6 separate regions of the Homo sapiens genome follow, and all the other regions are linked to region 1. The links are contacts of gene promoters, found by promoter capture Hi-C in blood cells and fetal thymus (Javierre and others, 2016). All regions are on one chromosome and are shown on one strand. Each heading gives the region's core, a stretch centred on a gene start or on the middle of the fragment in contact. The rest is flanking DNA. Distances are from core to core; before and after follow the strand shown.

Evidence for each region. The method cuts DNA at HindIII sites, captures the fragments that hold promoters and counts their contacts. A CHiCAGO score of 5 or more calls a contact.
Region 2: a fragment that was not itself captured here is called in contact with the fragment with the promoter of PTPRG in region 1 in 1 of 17 cell types (endothelial precursors); the score reaches 5.4 in endothelial precursors.
Region 3: a contact is called between a fragment that was not itself captured here and the fragment with the promoter of PTPRG in region 1, in 1 of 17 cell types (endothelial precursors). The highest score is 5.2, in endothelial precursors.
Region 4: a fragment that was not itself captured here is called in contact with the fragment with the promoter of PTPRG in region 1 in 1 of 17 cell types (endothelial precursors); the score reaches 5.8 in endothelial precursors.
Region 5: a contact is called between a fragment that was not itself captured here and the fragment with the promoter of PTPRG in region 1, in 1 of 17 cell types (endothelial precursors). The highest score is 9.8, in endothelial precursors.
Region 6: a contact is called between a fragment that was not itself captured here and the fragment with the promoter of PTPRG in region 1, in 1 of 17 cell types (endothelial precursors). The highest score is 6.3, in endothelial precursors.

Annotation. Positions count from the first base shown.
Region 1 is chr3:61,560,082-61,563,093 of GRCh38, forward strand. It overlaps PTPRG (protein tyrosine phosphatase receptor type G), which reads left to right and starts at 1,490. Exons shown (of 30, transcript NM_002841.4): 1 at 1,490-2,291. The coding sequence starts at 2,207. RefSeq lists an enhancer at 1-267. The HindIII fragment of the contact is 7,216 bases long and covers 1-3,012 here.
Region 2 is chr3:61,982,098-61,985,109 of GRCh38, forward strand. All of the region lies in intron 2 of PTPRG (protein tyrosine phosphatase receptor type G), which reads left to right. Among named protein-coding and RNA genes, the nearest start is that of PTPRG-AS1, 340 kb to the right of the region's middle. RefSeq lists an enhancer at 2,938-3,012. The HindIII fragment of the contact is 1,608 bases long and covers 623-2,230 here.
Region 3 is chr3:61,951,206-61,954,217 of GRCh38, forward strand. All of the region lies in intron 2 of PTPRG (protein tyrosine phosphatase receptor type G), which reads left to right. Among named protein-coding and RNA genes, the nearest start is that of PTPRG-AS1, 370 kb to the right of the region's middle. The HindIII fragment of the contact is 825 bases long and covers 1,165-1,989 here.
Region 4 is chr3:61,930,447-61,933,458 of GRCh38, forward strand. The region is part of intron 2 of PTPRG (protein tyrosine phosphatase receptor type G); the gene reads left to right. Among named protein-coding and RNA genes, the nearest start is that of PTPRG, 370 kb to the left of the region's middle. The HindIII fragment of the contact is 293 bases long and covers 1,474-1,766 here.
Region 5 is chr3:61,851,526-61,854,537 of GRCh38, forward strand. The region is part of intron 2 of PTPRG (protein tyrosine phosphatase receptor type G); the gene reads left to right. Among named protein-coding and RNA genes, the nearest start is that of PTPRG, 290 kb to the left of the region's middle. The HindIII fragment of the contact is 4,297 bases long and covers 1-3,012 here.
Region 6 is chr3:61,835,354-61,838,365 of GRCh38, forward strand. The region is part of intron 2 of PTPRG (protein tyrosine phosphatase receptor type G); the gene reads left to right. Among named protein-coding and RNA genes, the nearest start is that of PTPRG, 280 kb to the left of the region's middle. The HindIII fragment of the contact is 3,948 bases long and covers 1-3,012 here.

The DNA.
Region 1 (3,012 bases), core at 240-2,739:
CAAGAACCATGCGCGGTGGCTCACGCCTGTAATCTCAGCACTTTGGGAGGCTGAGGCAGGCGGATCACAAGGTCAGGAGTTCGAGACCAGCCTTGCCAAAACGGTGAAACCCCGCCTCTACAAAAAAAACCAAAATAAAACAAAAAACAAACAAAAAAAACCACCAAAAAAATAATCAGCCGGGCGTGGTGGCGGGCGCCTGTAGTCCCAGCTACTCGGGAGGCTGAGGCAGGAGAATCGCCCGAACCCGGGAGGCGAAGGTTGTAGTGAGCCGAAATCGAGCCACTGTACTCCAGCCTGGGCGACGGAGCGAGACTCCGTCTCAAAACAAAACAAAACAATCCCACGTCAAGATCGCTTTGAAACACAGGCAGAAAAATTAGGCAAAAAATGTCAAACGGCTAATTACCTTGGCTCAGTTACACATTTACTCGAAAGCCCGCCTCCCCCACTTTTAGCCCCAGCGTTAAGAATGTAAAATAGGGCGCTTAGAAGTCTAAGCGATAAAGATCTTCTTACCGAGAGCCAAGGGACAAAACTCATTACAGATAAGCCTAGTCCTCCCATTTCCCCCGGACGCCTCTCCCCGATTGCTAAAGAAGCAGCCGCTCCCCGGGTAGCTGCCAGGAAATCAGTCCGGCCCCGCGGCGCTGCTTTCACCCTGCAGGGTGTAAGAGGCGCACTTCCTGCGCCCTCCCCGCGGCCAAACCGGGGTGCGGGAACCTTCTCCAGAGAAGCTGCGAGTTGGGGAAACTCCGCCACCGATCCATCGTGGCGCCGGGAAAGGGGATGCGGGGCTCGGAAGGGCTAGATTTCGCAATCCTGGGATCGACATTCCTCCCCTCCCCCACTTTCCCCAGCCTTGGACTGGGCCAATGAAAGCCCGAAAAAGAAAAAAAAAAAAAATTAAATCTCAATGTAGCCGGAGTGCAAAGGCCGCTCGGCTTTGTTTCCCGGCGGGGGAATGCGCTGTGTTGGAGGCGCGAACAGGAGCCGCAGACGGTGAGCCTCACCGCTGCAAATGCCAGGGCAGTGAAGCCGAACAGAAAACCCCATCGCTTTAAAAAGGCAGCTGTCCGCCCTCCCCCTTTCCCCTCGCCAGGGCGAGGGGCCCCTCAAGTCCGGGATCCGCGAGCTGCGCGGAGGATCTCGCCAAACCCGAGCACCGTGCGGCGTCTTTTAAGAGCTCGAACAACGGGAATCCAGCAAAAAACAAGCCGGCCCCAGAAGGCAGCCTCCCTCCTCTCTCCGCGCACGGGCTACAATCGCCCCCAGTCCCCAAACTGTCCCAGTAGAGGCCGCGCGGAGAGAGCAGAGCCGAGGGACCCAGCGCAAGGCGGGAGCCAAGCGCGGCTGCTTTAAGAACGCGGAGAGCGCGCGCCCGCCGCCAGCTGGCCCGGGCTGCGCGCCCCCGCCGCCACCGCGCGCCCCCTGTTCGCTCGCTCCTTCGCTCGCCGGCTTTAAAGTCTCTGCCAGGATCCATGCTCACATGTTACTTCCTGTATGGAGGCATGGCCAGTTTCCAGCCCCGCGCTCTTCGTTCCTTCCCAGCCTGCGCCGGAGCCACAACTTTCAGGAGCATGGACTGAAGGCGCCCTCGCCCCAGCGCCCCTCTGAGATCCTTTGTGTTTTCCTCCGTTTCCTCCGGCCGTTTCTATTTTGGGGGGCTCTCCGCTCCCCCTGCCTCTCCCCTCCCCTTCCCCTCTCGCAAACATGCCTCCTTCCTTCCCGGGGCCCTGGAAGGAGCTGCCTGCCTGAAGCCCGGAGACGCCGCGCCGCGCTCAGCCCCGCCGCCGCCCGCCGGCTCTCGGGCTGTGCTGCGCTGCCGACTCAAGTTGGGGATCCTCGGCTGCTCGCCGCCGCCGCCCGCGGTCCCTGCCTGCCCCAGGCCCGGGGCATCGCCGCCGGCCGCCGACTCCGCGCCCTGCCCGATCGGCTCTCTCCTTTTTAAACGGAAAGCAGCCTTTCTCCGCCGAGAGGATCGTCCCCAGCGTGGCTCTGCGTTCCCGGTCACTTTTTGAGATTTTCCGGGGGGCGCTCGGCGGCTTCCCGGATTCCAAGGGGACTCGGGCCGCCGAGCGCGGGGGGCCCGTGGAGCGGGCGAGCCGGGGAAGCGCCCCGGCTTAGCGGAGGCTCGCACGGAGGCAAGAACTTATTCAACAAGTTTACCTCCCTGCTTTCCTCTTTTCGATGTGCGTTTTCGGACATGCGGAGGTTACTGGAACCGTGTTGGTGGATTTTGTTCCTGAAAATCACCAGTTCCGTGCTCCATTATGTCGTGTGCTTCCCCGGTGAGTGCCGGCCGCCGAGGGGATGCGGCCCCGGCCGGCGCGCGTTGGGGATGCGGAGTTGTCGCCTGGGCGCGGAGCTCCGGCGCCCGTCCGGGAGACCCTGGAGAGGGTGGAGGGTGGCCCGGCGCCCGGATAGGAGAAAAGGATTGCTCCGCTGGCTTGGATGATGTTTAGGGAGGCAGGCTAGTGGTCGAGGAAGGTGGAGGCAGGGGCTGGCCGGGGAGGGGGCTGGGGGACGCGGGGGTCTGCTCCCGCTCCCTTTTGGGGGTCCTGGGGAGCTGGAATCGGGAGAAAGGGGGACTTGCTTTGCTGACTCGTCGCCGATCGGGAGAACTCGAGTTGTGGGGCGGTTGGGGAGACTGAGGCCATGGAAAGGATGCTTCTGTGGGTTTGGGGGGCCCGGGATGAGCCCCCTCGCTCTGGCGGGTATTGAAGGAACTCAGAAGGTGGGGGTTTGCTTTGCTGTTCTCCATCCCTTTGGGAGGGCTAGGTTTCGGGGAATGGAAGTCGGAGGCTGGCTGCGGAGGACTGAGGATGTGTGGGGAGCAGCCTGCGTTCTGGGTCGGGGGCGTCCTCCCTCTCTCTGGGGGCTGGGGCGCGGGCAGCACTTCGGTGCCGGCGTGAGGCAGCCTCCTTGGGCGCAGTGAGACGGCAGGGCGCAGGCGGTTTCGGAGAGATCCGTGTCTCCCCTAGCCCCGGCCCGTGGCCCTTTCCCTCCGCT
Region 2 (3,012 bases), core at 177-2,676, 420 kb after region 1:
GGAAAGTCAGGATTCTAAAAGAACATATTAGTCAAAATGTTGACTATTTGGGGGTGTACCTAACTTTAAGGTTGAAAACTTCAGGTCTGGAACGAACTCATCTCCATTTTATAAACACTTAAGATGTTTGGCATTGGCTAGTAAGAATTGTGATAACTTTGTTAGTATCTCAGATACTTGTTGAAGCCAGTTTCCTGTTGTATCTATGAGAAGCAGGAATAAAGCTGGTACAACTTTAAGTCAGCCTAGTTAGGTTTGGGGTGAATAAATGATCCCAATTATTGGTAGAAATTTTTAATGAATGTTTGGATGTGGGGTGGATTCAACTTGAAAGATATAACTTTTAAATCCCAGATACACCTAAACATGCATAGGTCAAAGACTTTTAAGTCTTTAAAGGACCTTCAGAATCTTGCAGTGTGTGGATGGCATGCATATTCATGGTTTGCACTCTAATAATGTCATATTATACACCCATGCGGGCATCACTAATCAGTCAACTCCTTTTGAGCCTTTACTCAGCCTAGAGGTCTGTGGCTCAGAACTAAAAGGTAGCCATTATTGCCATCTTTACTCTTTTTAATACCCTCCTTTTCCAGAACAGTAAAACAGGCTCCAGAGAAGCTTTTTACCATCAGGATTAGAGTCTGGGACCTCCAGTTTAGGCATTGGTACTGAATGAAATTTTACCTGAAATAGTTTTAACATCCAGTCCTAAAATAGACACCCTGGGAAATTAGACAGATAATGGTATTAAAAAATGAACAAAGTAGTTAGTTTCTATTTCTGGTGTTATTGTCTGATATTACTTCTGGTATTATGGTTAGTTGTTGATAGTTTTCTTTAAGCACACCATTGATATGAAATGGAGTACTGCAGTTTTTACACCTTAAATTTAAAACCAAAAAATGTGTATTTCATTATTTGCAAAGTAACTTTATATTTTCTTAACTGGTTTAAAATTTAGAATATTTCTATCAACAAAGTTGAGCAGCTTTATAACTGAATATGAATAAAGTAAAAATAGTGGCAAGCAGTAATATGCATGCCTTTTAAGACTTTTTCCATTTTTCGTGTACACACAAACAATAAATGCACAAGAAGTAATTAAGCTATTAGTACTGGAGAATGCAAAAGAATTGTAATCAGAATCCCATAAAGATTTTAATTAAAACATGGAATAATTTAAACCTGTGTATTCGATTTCGGATAAAAAGCATTAATTATAATAGGTAAAAATGATACACATATTTTTGGATTGTTGCTATTGGTTAAAAGTAGACAACAAAATGCAGAGTAATAAGCCTGGATTCAGGTAATATTTGTAATATAAGTTTATTGAGAGAGGCATTAATAAGCATATTTGACTAGAAACAGCACATAACATGTATATTAGTTTTGTTTTTAATTAGATTTAGACAGAATTCATTATTTTTAATGGCTTTTCATTAGTGAATAGGAACCATTATTTGGATCTATTGTGGTAAAATAAATTCAAGGTACATGCTTATTTTCAGCAAAGAACCTCTTAGGTATTTAAAGAAACCACTGTTTGGAACATGAATCATATATAGGTATGTGAAATTCCTTGCTTTTAGACAAAAGTATGATTTCTATGCTCATACAACTTTTATCTTAGGTCAGTTATTAACAGAGAACTATACTGAAGTGAGACAGTTTGCTTAAATTGTAGAAAATTCTTGTTGTTGACCAGTTTTATTTGTCCTTATTTGGACTTTTCAAGTAGTATTGCTGGGGCTGATGGTAGGGCAACATTAAGGTGTTTCTCTCAGATTTTTATATGATATTTGTTTGAATAGAATTAACTAGCATTGATTTAAAATTTATATGTGTCGACCAAGTTCTTTGGGCTAACTCTGCCTTAAAGAAACTGAGTATGAAGTGAAGTCTCAGATTCAAGCCCAGATTTACAGTATTTGCCATTATTTTCATGTGAGGAATTCTATCTGCCTTAAACAGACCAGTTGGAATTAATCTCCAATTGTGTGATTTATTCTCCCTACTGTGGAAATATGTCTTCCTGATGCTAGTCTACTGAATTGTAACATCTCAAAATGAGAAAAATACAGTGACTTGTGAATGGCACACTAAGGAGGTAGAAGTGGATTATTTTAATGCAGAAATGAGCTATAGGTTAAGCTAATGATGTTTTTCTTAATGACAGCTTTAAAAACTGAATTTCTCCAACTTTATATAAGGTTTTTATATAAGCTTAAATAATATCACCCATGAACTTGATTATTTTCTTTACCGTAGTCTCTTGTTTCCTTCGTCTTTTGTGTTTGCAGACTCCATTTATCCAAAAAGAATATGACAGTCATCCCAGTATTACCCATAAATCAGTGCCCATCTCCCTCATCTATCATGCCATAGACACGGCCTAAGTGCATACCAGTAAATCCAGTAAAACCTGGTTAGTAAAATTTAACTTATTTAACACAACTTATATTTTACTTGGCTTCTATGCAGTTTGCTCCATAATTTCTTCATTTCATTGTCAGAGTAGCCACAAAAGAATGACCTTTTGACAAGGACCTACTAGGAACCCAACATGGGTGTGTTTACTATTAACTGAGCACCAAACTTTACTCAGAGCTCATGAGTTTTTCCATTAATTTTTGTTTTTGATTCCACCATTCAATCTAGAGCACCACATTCTATTTATTGTCTGTGTCTCCTTAATCTTCTCTGATCTCTGACAGTGTTTTAGTCTTTCTCATGACCTTGACACTTTTGAGGAGTGTTTGTCAATTATATAGAATGTTTGTCAATTATATAGAATGTTCCCCAATTTGGGTTTGTCTGATGTATTCCCCATGATTATACCAGGGTTGTGAATTTTTGGAAAGAATACCACGGAGGTGATTTGCCCTTCTTACCACTTCCTGTCAGATGTCCAAGATAGCCATGTGGTCTCACTGGGGATGTTAACCTTCATCATTTGACTAAGGTGACTTTTGCTAGGCCTCTCCACTGGGAACTTACTCACTA
Region 3 (3,012 bases), core at 327-2,826, 390 kb after region 1:
TTTTCCTAGTTACTAGAATTGGAAGTGGCAATCACTTCTATTCCAGCCTGTCCAGTGTTTTCTGCTGAAACTATTTAGAAAGTGTGATGTCCTAATGGGACCTGGCTAACTTCTTGAACTGTAGCTTTTAATGTTCTTGGTTTTGTAATAATCTCATCCTTTCAAAATTTGCTTGAAATTTGTGTTTCTTTGACCTCTGGTAGACTATACTTTGGTGCCCTTTGTAGAAAGATTTTCTTTGACTCAATATTGTAGATAGTTCAGGCAACCTTTTAAAGAAGTATTCTTCTTTGTATGGTTCTAAGAATTCTTTACACATTTAGTTCTGGATTATTTCGTGGGAAGATGGCTCCCAATCTGCTCTCTCTAGTCTCCTTGAGGGCAGAGGACTCCCCTAATTTCCTGTGTATTTCCAGCGCTTGTTTCCGTGTCTGGTTCTGAGATAGTCTACACAGAGTGTTTTTTGGGGAATGTGCAAGGGTTTCTTCTTGGCAACAATTGACTTCTACTGTTTTACAAAGTACAGAGAGGCTGTGCTCTGTTGCTGATGGGGTTACTTGATTCTGTGAAGTGCTCTTTTCTGACTGGTATTAGCAAGTAACGCAAACCCAAATTTTAAAAATGATAGAATCGGCCTGGCGTGGTGGCTCACGCCTGTAATCCCAGCACTTTGGGAGGCCGAGGCGGGCAGATCACGAGGTCAGGAGATCAAGACCATCCTGGCCAACATGGGGAAACCCTGTCTTTACTAAAAATACAAAAATTAGCTGGGTGTGGTGGTGCGTGCCTGTAATCTCAGCGACTTGGGAGGCTGAGGCAGGAGAATCACTTGAACCAGGGAGTCGGAGGTTGCAGTGAGCTGAGATCACGCCACAGCACTGCAGCCTGGCGACAGATCGACACTCCACCTCAGAAAAAAAAAAAAAAAAAAAAAAAGACAGTATCAGAATCCCAGTCTTCCTCAGACCTCATATGTGGAGGCAGTGCATGTTTAGCAAACCTGGGGCCCTGGGAGCCACCACTGACTGTTAGGACCACTTTAGTGCCTGTGCTGTAAGCCAGGATTTTGAAGTTCTTGGGGGCAATTTTGCTTTAAGCAGTGTTAGGGAACTCTTTACAGGTTTGTGAGCTGGGAGTGACAAGCCATTATTTTATCCACACCAAAGCTTTGAATGATAAAGGGGTTGAACCACTGTCATTCATTAAATTCATTAACTGTTGGAATTCCTCTAAGGATCTATCTGCAGGCCCCTTCTCTTCTCACTCTGTACACGGTCTCCCCAGGCAACTTCATAATGGCTAAAATTACCATCTATTCCAAGAGCATGCTCAAATTGATATTTCTGGCTGAAATCTCCCTTTTGAGATTAAAGCCCTTATCACCTACTTCCTCCTTGACGCCGGAGTTCTCAGGACACCTTAAAACCAAGTTCAGTATCTCTGCCCATTTCTGCTTCCTTACCTTTAAACCTGTTCCTCATTCAGTCCTTTCTGTCCCCAGGAGTGGCAGAAACATAATCCATTTGCCCTAGCCTCAAACCTGGGATGTCTGTCTTCCTCCGTCTACAATTAATCATCAGCCAGCTCCTATCAGTGTCACTTGAATCCATATTTTCTCCCCTACTCACTGCCACCACTAAATAGTAATCTCTTGCCTTCTGTGGAAGCTGTAGAACATCGCTTCAAGTTTACCCTCTTGTGACCCACTGTTGTCTACACAGAAAATCTGGAGGAACCTTTAAAAATGGGAATATGAATGTATCACTCCTGTGTCAGTAACTATTCTGGGACCATTTTTGTGGCTTCCAATAGGTCTCAGGATACATCCTAGGATCCAGCAATGACTTTTCTTAATTTCTCGCCCTTTCTACTTACCGTGCCCCAGGTCAAGCCCACAATTTTCCCTACACCTACTGCTGTCTCTACTCAGAAACGCTTTCCCTCCTCCCAACCTGCTTCACCTGGTTGAATTCTAGCTCCTGTTTCAGAAGCTTAGCTTTAATCACTTCCTTCAGGAGGCTTTTCTTGCCCCCAGCTAAGTCAGAGCCTTACTCTTCTCCCACCCACCCTTGCTCTGCTACTGACAATGAAGAATTGCTTGAAAGGGGCAAAAATAGAGAGAAACTAGATACTGACACAGGCACGCAGGCAAAAGGAATGGTTAGAAAAAAGGAATTGCTGGTCAATTTCGCCATTATTGACTTTGTCCCTTGGTATTTAAAAACCTAGGCAGGTCCCCTAGTATCAGTGCCTCTAGGAACGTGAGCACTTCTGGATGCCGGGCAGCACTTCTAAAGGTTACCTACGGGCTCCCTAGTAAATTAAGGTTGTATATTGCAATGGCAATTAAGCAGTGTAATAAATGTGATTGTTGTGGTGGTTCTATGGGGAGGGGAGACTCTTCCCACAGGCTGGGTTCCTTTCCTGCTGCTTGTCTAATTAACATAATTTCTAGCCCCAAGGCTCACTGCTGCATTTTCTTCTCCAATGTAGAAGGGTGATGGAGATGCACCTTCCATTCTTTCAGCACGTCAGTCATACTAAACTACACTCTGTGAGGGCCAGGGGAAGGAAACAAAAACCCTTCTGTGTATGTAGAGTAAGAAGTTCTACTCTAAAGCACAAATGCTCCAGAGAAAATACAAGGGAGTGTATTTTCTGCTGCTGTACAATCTGCTGCTCTCTTCAGATGCTTTGACCTGTTCCTATAGTGACTTTGTCACATGATTCTGAATTTAAGGATACATCTACTTCCTACATAAGACTAAGTTGCAAACCAGCTGCAAATATGTAGTACTCCCTTGGATGAAGAGTGTTGGATTGGAAATCTGGGGAGAGGACAGACTCATTGGTCTTCCAGTTTGTTTTCCTAGAGATTTCTTGAGAGTAATTTTGACGATGCCCTGCTTGGTTTCATGTTACTTGCTGACTTCAGCACCTAAATCCCTTCCCTGCCCAACTTCCCGCCTCCACCAAACATACTGGTTCCTTACTGAGGTTTGAATGTAGGTT
Region 4 (3,012 bases), core at 370-2,869, 370 kb after region 1:
CAGCACACAGATTATCACTTCCATTCCTTTTGGGATGTAGACCTGCATCTTATGTGTTGCGTCTTACTTTTGAGTTACTGTGAACAACTGTTTTCTTCATCTGCCAGTTAAAGACAAATTACAAGGAGGAAAGGATGGAAAATACAGGAAAAGAGTGTGAAAGCCCAAGAACTTAAAGCTCTGGATGTACAGTTGTTCTTTTTTGTGGAGTCAAGCGTCATTGTGGCATCCTCTATGGGTGTTCCAAAATTACAATTATAGTTAGAGAAATAATATAGGTAATTATGCTGTCGAACCACTGTAAAGGAGAGCACGTAAAAGAAGGCAGTGCGGCCAGGCGCAGTGGCTCATGCTTGTAATCCTAGCACTTTGGGAGGCCGAGGCCGGTGGATCATCACGAGGTCAGGAGTTCGAGACCAGCCTGGCCAATATGGTGAAACCCCATCTCTACTAAAAAATACAAAATACAGAAATTAGCCGGGCATGGTGGCGCACCTGTAGTCCCAGCTACTCGGGAAGCAGAAGAATCACTTGAACCTGGGAGGCAGAGGTTGCAGTGAGCTGAGATCACGCCACTGCAGTCCAGCCTGGGTGACAGAGTGCAGCGCCTAATTCATTGCTTAGAAGGGCCCAAAGCTCCTTCCTGCCCGTGGGCCATGTGCTGTGGTTCCTGCAGCCTCCCCAACCTGATCTTCTCTGTTTGCTTTTGCTCATTTTGCTTCTGCAGCACTCACTGCTGGGCCACTTTGCTCTGTTCTGATTTGCATTCTTGTTCTGTGCTACCTGTGCCTGGAAGGCTCTGGAAGGTTTTGCGATGTTGAGCGCATTTTCACCCTCAACAGTTCTGCTTAAAGGTTTATTACTTGTTGTGGCTAACTCCAAGTTACTTTGCTGCCGTTTTTCTGGAATCCTGCTTGATGATATTTGGTAAATAGAATAATGTTGGCACAGACACACTGCTCTTCTGTTTCATGTGTGGTAGTGGTATGTCCACAGTCTTTTTTGATTCTTCCCTTACTAAGTCATGGCCACGTTACCCGTGCTGCCTCCGGAGCTAAGCTAACCTCACTGGATCTGCTGGCGAGGGACTGTGTGTCCCGGGCCCAAATGGGTTACTGCTCTTACACAAGTCAAGACCCCGTGTCCTCTTAGAGCTGCCTTCCCACCCTCTTCTAACCTTGACTTTACTAATTTAAGTTTATGATCTAACATGATCAAACGCACAACTGAGTCTATGTTGTTTACTTTCTGGTGGCTTCAAAGAATATCCAACCACCTCCATTCCCCTCAAAACAAAAACAAAAACAAAAACACCAGGAGATTCATTCAAGGATGATGACCATATTATCATTTTTCATTGTCTGATCCATGTTATTTGTTGAGTGGATGTTATGACAAACTCTCATGTTTAATAACAAAATCGTGTTTCTGTTCTTAGCTCCAAAGCCAGACCTTTGGTCCTAAAGTTTTTGAAGCTTCTGGTTGAAACATTGCTCTTCTATGTTGTCTTCCTTTCTTAGGAATGGTCAACCTTTATTGTACTCATGACATTCATCATTTGTATTTTCATTTTTTATTTTTTTACTATTTAAAACATGTTTTTTGCTAACAATATTTTCCCCTGCCAAAATCTGTTTGCTTTTAAAAAATGAATTAGCTTAGATTTACTCTCCAGGTCAATTATATATCTACCACTAAGTGTGTGTCAGATGGGGTCTGCAGGTGTGGGACCAACTAGCTCCTTTCTGAAGCCAATGGTTTGGTAAAGCTTTGTGACCTGAGAGCTGCATCTTTGGATTGGATATTACATAGATTCTTGTAATGCAGCACTGCATGGAATTATCCCAATGTGGGCATCGGTGTTGAACACAACAGACCATAAAATTCCATTTCATTTCTGTTGCATAAACATAGGATCACAAATAGTGTGATTATTTCTAGCAGCCTCAGGCGTCTTAGCCAGGGGGAACATGTAGGAGACTATGAATACTTAAATATATTATAAGCTTCCCCACATGAGCTGACCAAGTACCTTTGACACTAGCCTTTAAAAGGGTCGAATATAAAAACCTCTAATACGGTCACTTGCTGAGTTCTTACTGTGTGCAAGGCGCTGTTTTCATGCTTTCATTTGCATTATCACAGCAAGTCTTCAAGCTAGCATTGTAGTGCATTATATTCTCACTTCACAGCTGAGGGCATGGAAGCCCAGAGAGGTCATGACACTTGGCAGAATTGCACAGTAAGGGCAAAAGGTGGGTTTTGAACCCATGTCTTTTGACTCAAAACTTGTAACCACCACCACCAAAATCTTGGTCAGAAACAATTCAGTTTCTCTCACAGTTGCTTTGATCTTGATTGGCTTTCCCTTATGGGTTTTTCAGGCGCAGCATTCTCGTGTTCTCCTTGTCTCAGTATTTCATGGGAGGCAGGCAGTGCCGCAGAGCCTTGAGGAAGACTAATCTGGACCAAGACTGGGGCTAGAATAAATGAATGAAACCCCCCACTTGCTACTTCACTTTTAGCTAAAAAGTCCAAAATGGTTAAATTGGCTGTCTGAAACCCATATGGCTGAGAATTTGTGGTCAGACAAGCAAAACTGAGCACAGCCTCTGCTGCGATCCTGTGATTGGGGTCCCCAAAGCAAATGTCTGTTGGAGTTCCTCAGAAAGCATAAATATGCAAAACAAAAAGGTAAAAGACAGTAGGAAATAGTGGAGCTGGGGTCTATGTGGAAAGGTACATTTCTCTTTTCAACTTCAGGTTAAAAAGTAGTAACAAAATCCTAAAAACCTGGTGGTGAATCAAAATGATGCTGAGATACGATTTTGTCCCCTCTGCAGTAAGAGTGCTGATCTGTGATGGCAGAGATCTTTTTTATTCTTTTTTGCTCTCAACTATTAATTGTACTGGGTACCTGATGGGCACTCATTAAATATGTTGTGAACAAATAACAAACCACTGTAAGACTCAGTTTTCTCATCTATAAAATAGTCATGATGAGAGTTCACA
Region 5 (3,012 bases), core at 304-2,803, 290 kb after region 1:
ACCTAACATTTTCCAAATGTGCTTTTCACATCTAATATTCATTTATTTGCATGGTGGAAAAATGGGTTGTTTGAATCAGGTATCTATTTTTATAGAATTAGATTAGGGTGAAGTACACTTAACATTTAAAGCACATTTAAATTTTAAAATGCCTGAGAATTGTCATGAGGAGTCTTGGAATTATTAGACTTTTCTTGATGGGTTTGTTGTTACTTATTGGTAATGAGAGAGACATATTCTGATTGAGGTTCTAGTACAGCTGCTACAATCAGTTTCTTCTCTTTGCCTTCAGTAGCATAATTGTGGAGGTGAAAAATCAGAAGGGGTAGTTCAAAAAGTAGTTTTCATGTTAAACAGCCATTTTAAATTGGAGTCACGTAATTTTCCAGTGTCTTATGATTATAGCTATCTAGATTGGCTGACCCTCAGAAACTGTGATGAGGTTAATATTAGTGGTTTTAGGCCACTAGATTTTGAGGTAATCTCTTATGCAGCAATAGATAACTAATACAATGTTGATACAATTGGGGCTGTATTTTTGGTTGATGGTAAAATATTTTGAGTTCTTTTGGAACTAGATTTTAGGGAGTTTAATAAACCCATTTTTGTTAATTTCTTTTTAAGGTGTTTGGATACAGTATTAGCTGATACTACTTTTCTCTCTCTTTGCGTCTGTCCTTCACTAAACATAATCTTTGAAAAGGAGACATTTTTGTTTGTTTGCTGTGCTTTCCAAGAAGGATGGGGTCTGACTTTCTCTTTTTATGGTCAGTTATAAAGTTGTAATAAGGATTATTTTGACCTTTCTGGAGAATATGTCATGACAATTATATTTCAAGCATGTTATACAGTGATTATAAGGTGGGTCCAGTACTTGGAATAACAATTCACAAATGGAATTTTACAGTAAGACACAGATCTATGTTTAGACAAACCTACTTGCATACTTCGGATTTTCTTACCTGAAGAGTTTTTTAAAAACCATGGACATATACTGTTAGCATCCAGCTTCAGTGACGTTATAATTGGGATGAGGTCTTACTGATAAATATTGTGTTTCTTACGAACATGGAAGCTGAGTCCCAGAGAGTTAAATTGATGAGTCTTTGGTTTAGAGGCAGAATCAAGATAGAATTGGAGACTCTGTATTTCTAGGTTACTTTGTGGTCTTTGTATTATGGTGCCTATGTCTTTGTCAAGTTCACGGTGGCTATGGAGATCCTGAGCTTTGAGGGCCATGTGTGAAAGCACCATGCAACAGTTTGCCTTATGAAAATTGCCTGATTTATTCTTGTTTCCAGGGGCCTATTTTAGAAATGTTATCTCAGTAACGCGTATGGACATACATGCATGGACTTGCAAAGGTCCTAAAAGCTGGACGTCTCAAAGACCTCACCTTTATGAGTAAAGTAGACATTGATTGCCACTGCCTACCTGACATCCATGTCCCTTCCTCTTTGCATCTGTTCATCTAAATTCCATTTATTGAATGATTTCTTTGTAACAGCTGTTGTGTTACATGCAGGGGATAGGATAGTGACCAAAGCATACAAACATGCTTGTCCTTGCGGAGCTTACGTTCTACTGTGGGAAACAGACAAAGAGTAAGAAGTATGTTGTATGATGATAAGTTCTAAATAGAAAACATTAAAGCAGGGAAGGGGGGTTTGAGAAAATGGAAATTTTAGAGAAGGTGTGTGCGAGGTTCAGAATGGCCCCCATAATCCCCACTTCCAGGTATTCACACCCTTTTTTAGTCTTGTTAAACAAAGAGAGCTGGTTTGTGTGATCAGTTGACGATGGCAGAGGTGACACTGTGTGACTTCTTAAGACCAGGCCGTAAAGGAATTGCGGCTTCTGCCTTTGGGCTTACTATTGATTGTTTCCTTTGGAACAAGCTCACTCCAATATCATTAGAACGCTGGGGAAGAACTGAGGCTCCACCAACAGCTGGTACCATTTTGCTGGCCATGTGATTGAACCACTTAGGAAATGGATCCTCCAGTCCATGTTAAGCCTCAGATAACTGCTGACCCAGCTGACATCTTGACTGCAATCTCATTTAGAAAACTTGTTTCAGAACTGCACAGCTAAGCCATTGCTACATTCCTGACCTATAGAGATGGTGACAGATAATAAATGTTTATTGATGTTCTAACTTAGTGAGTTTTGGGGGATTTAGTTACACAGCATATGACAACTAAGATGCAGAGTGCTAGGAAAGTCTTTACATAAAATATTCCTTTTGGGGAATTCACTGTGACCCCTTTGTTTTCTCCTCCAAGTTGATGTGTTCTGGGGTGAGCTGTTTTCCTTCTCTGGGCTCTAGGAATGGACACATGACCCAGGTCTGGTCATTTAGGTTGTTAAGATTGCTTTGATTGGATTGGAGATGAATATGTGGCCATGGCCATCTAATGAAAGTCTCCTGTGCTTTACTTCAAATGGCCACATCAAAGTCCTTCCTGTGCTGAGGCTTCTGTGCTTTTCAGAACATAAGCTCAGAGGAACCGGTGGCCATTCAAAAGAGAAAGGCCTGTTTGAGAGTGCAGCCAGCACTGGAATGCAGAACTGAGTTGACAGCAAGAGAATGAGATCTCTTGAGAGAACAGCAGCCCTGTGCTGCTAGAAGGTAGCAGTACTACACACATGCACAACAGATGTACCCCCTGAATAGTTACGTGAGACAATAACCTCCTTGCCCTTTGGTTTTCTTTTGTTTAGGCCACTTTGAGGTGGGATGGTTTCACTTTAAACCAGTGCCCTGAGTTTTCACCATAATTATAAAAACATTGAGCCTCGGTTTCTTATCTGTAAAATAGGTCTGATTTCACCTATTCTCATCTATAGGCTGTGAGAAATTAATAAGGGAAGACAGGTAAAGTACCTGGCAAAAAATTGATTCCTCTGTCTTCTCTATTTACTCTGTTTCTCCTTCCTGCAACTATGTACCCCATTTTGTTTGTTCTCCTAAGGTCTGTGCCTGTTCAGTGTGTACACATACATATTCAT
Region 6 (3,012 bases), core at 337-2,836, 280 kb after region 1:
TCATTCCTACTCCCCCCTTCCCCAGGCTGGAGTGCAGTGGTGCGATCTCAGCTCACTGCAACCTCTGCCTCCTGGATTCAAGCGATTCTCCTGCCTCAGCCTCCTGAGTAGCTGGGATTACAGGCACACGCCACCACACCTGGCTAATTTTTGTATTCCTAGTAGAGATGGGATTTCACCATGTTGGCCAGGCTGGGCTCGAACTCTTGACCTTGTGATCCAGCCACCTCAGCCTCCCAAAGTGCTGGGATTATAGGCATGAACCACCACGCCCAGCCCGTTCCTGCTATTTAAGTCCTTAATGGCCTGGCCTTGTTGGTAGTCTGAAGTGTCACATCAGTGGTTCTTAAACCAACCTTTTTATCAGGATCACTTTGGGCATATGTTAAAATATACACACGTGGGCCGGGCACAGTGGCTCACACCTGTAATCCCAGCACTTTGGGAGGCCGAGGTGGGTGGATCACCTGAGAGGTCAGGAGTTCGAGATCAGCCTGGGCAACATGGTGAAACCCCATCTCTGTTAAAAATGCAAAATTAGCCAGGCATGGTGGCACATGCCTGTAATTCCAGCTACTTGGGAGGCTAAGGCAGGAGAATTGCTTGAAGCTGGGAGGTGGAGGATGCGGTGAGCTAAGATCGCGCCATTGCACTCCAGCCTGGGCAACAAGAGTAAATCTCCGTCTCACCCCCCGCGCCCCCCCCCACCAAAAAAAAAAATATATATATATATACACACACACACACCTGAACCCCACTGCAGATTAATGGCTCTTTGGATATTTGTAGGCCTGCTCTTTGTTCTTACAGCTATGTGTAGGAATCACTGGTAAGTCTTTACCTTCCTTGTCTCTTCTCTTTCCAAACCATTGTTCTTTGTTTAGGCCTTTGTTATAGAACATAGCCCTTTTCTGTTCATCCACTACCCTCTGACCTCTCTGATTCATGTACCCCTCACCTTCCTCATTGTTTTCTGAGTGTGTAGTACATAGTAAGTGCTTGAAAGTGGTTGAAGTAATGCAGTTTAAAGTTGTAACATTTTGAGGCCTGGTGTTGATCTACAAAGATGGTAGGCTCAGTTCCAAACAAGACACTAGCCTTTCCTGTCTCCTGGAGGCCAGCTTTACTTAGGGATAGTGATAATAAAATATAGCAGCTACTATTTACTATGCTCTTACTACCTTCCGGGTACTTTGCATAATGCCTCTCAGACATTATTGACATCAAGGCCTGAACTAGGAATATCAGATAATAATATCTATTGCCATCACTTTGTAGTTGAGGAAATAGAGGTGCAGTAAGTTTTAATAACTTGCTGAAGATGATGCAGTTTGTAAATGGGTGAAGTTCTGTTTGAAACCAGTTTTTTTGTTGTTGTTGTTGTTTTTTGTTTTTTTATTTGTTTTTTTCAGACGGAGTCTCTGTCTGTCACCCAGGCTGGAGTGCAATGGCACAATCTCGGCTCACTGCAACCTCTGCCTCCCGGGTTCAAGCAGTTCTCCTGCGTCAGCCTCCCTAGTAGCTGGGACTACAGGCACACGCCACCAGGCCTGGCTGATTTTTTTTTTTTCTTTTGAGATGGAGTCTTGCTCAGTCGCCCAGGCTGGAGTGCAATGGCACAATCTCGGCTTACTGCAGCCTTCACCTCCTGGGTTAAAGCGATTCTCCTGTCTCACCCCCCAGAGTAGCTGGGATTACAGGTAGGCACCCATCATCATGCCCGGCCAATTTTTGTATTTTTGTAAAGATGGGTTTTATCATATTGGCCACTCTGGTCTTGTACTCCTGACCTCAGGTGATCCGCCTGTCTTGGCCTCCCAAAGTGTTGGGATTATAGGTGTGAACCACTGGACCTGGTTAATTTTTGTATTTTTAGTAGAGACAGTGTTTTGCCATGTTGGCCAGGCTGGTCTCGAACTCCTGACCTCAAGTGATCTGCCTGCCACAGCCACCCAAAGTGCTGGGATTCACAGGTGTGAGCCACCGCACCCAACCTGAATCCAGCTTTTTCATCTTTAGATCTTGACCTTTTGACAGTTACCCAGTAATATCTCCTAAAATGTGGGATACAGTAAAGTAACTGGAAGTTGAGTCACAAGCAGGGCTCCTGTTTGCCCATGTCTTGCTGAATGTTCGGCATGCAGGGGGTACTAGACTATTAAAGGCTGAATACGGAGGTGCAGCCTGAATAGTACGTCATAGACAAGAGCGGATCAGCAGCATTGATTGAACAATAGCAAGGTTTTAGCCTGGATTTTTGTGTTTGAGGTGAAGGAAGGGGATGAGGAATGTCTGTACACGTACACATGTACCATATTTTTCACTTGAGGGTGCTTTCACTGATCAATTTTGAGGGATTATTGAAAATAAGTGAAGACATTGAAACCAGATGTATTAGTCCATTAGGGCAGCTATAACACCACAAACTGGGTGACTTAACAGAAATTTGCTTTCTTACAGTGCAGGAGGCTGCCAGTCAAATATCAGTGTATTGCAAGTTTGCTTTCTTCTGAGGCCTCTCCCCTTGGTTTGGAGATGGCCACCTTCTCTGTGTGTCTTCACATGGCCTTCCCTGTCTTTCTTCTTCCTCTTACAGGGACATCAGCCTTAATGGATCAGGCCCCCGACACTTTTGCCCACATTTAACCTTATTCACCCCTTTAAAAACCCTGTCTCCAAATACAGCCCTGTGAGGGCTTCAACATATGAATGTTGCAGGGGAGGCACAATTAAGTTCACAACACCGGGATGGTTAAACAACTGCCCTGAGATTTCAGATGGTGAATGGGAGGGAACTGGGCCTAAAAGCTGGTTTCTAGGACAAGTGGTGAAGGTGCTCAGAATTATTGTCCTGAACTCAGTATGTGAGAAATAGTTAAATGGGGAAGGTTGTGCTGTTGGGTTATCTACCTGAAATCAGTTGAAGAATCGTTTTTGGTTTCAAATAATTAACCCTAGAAGTTGGGCCTGACTGGAGACTTAGGCCACCAAAACTAGACAGGTTTATATAGT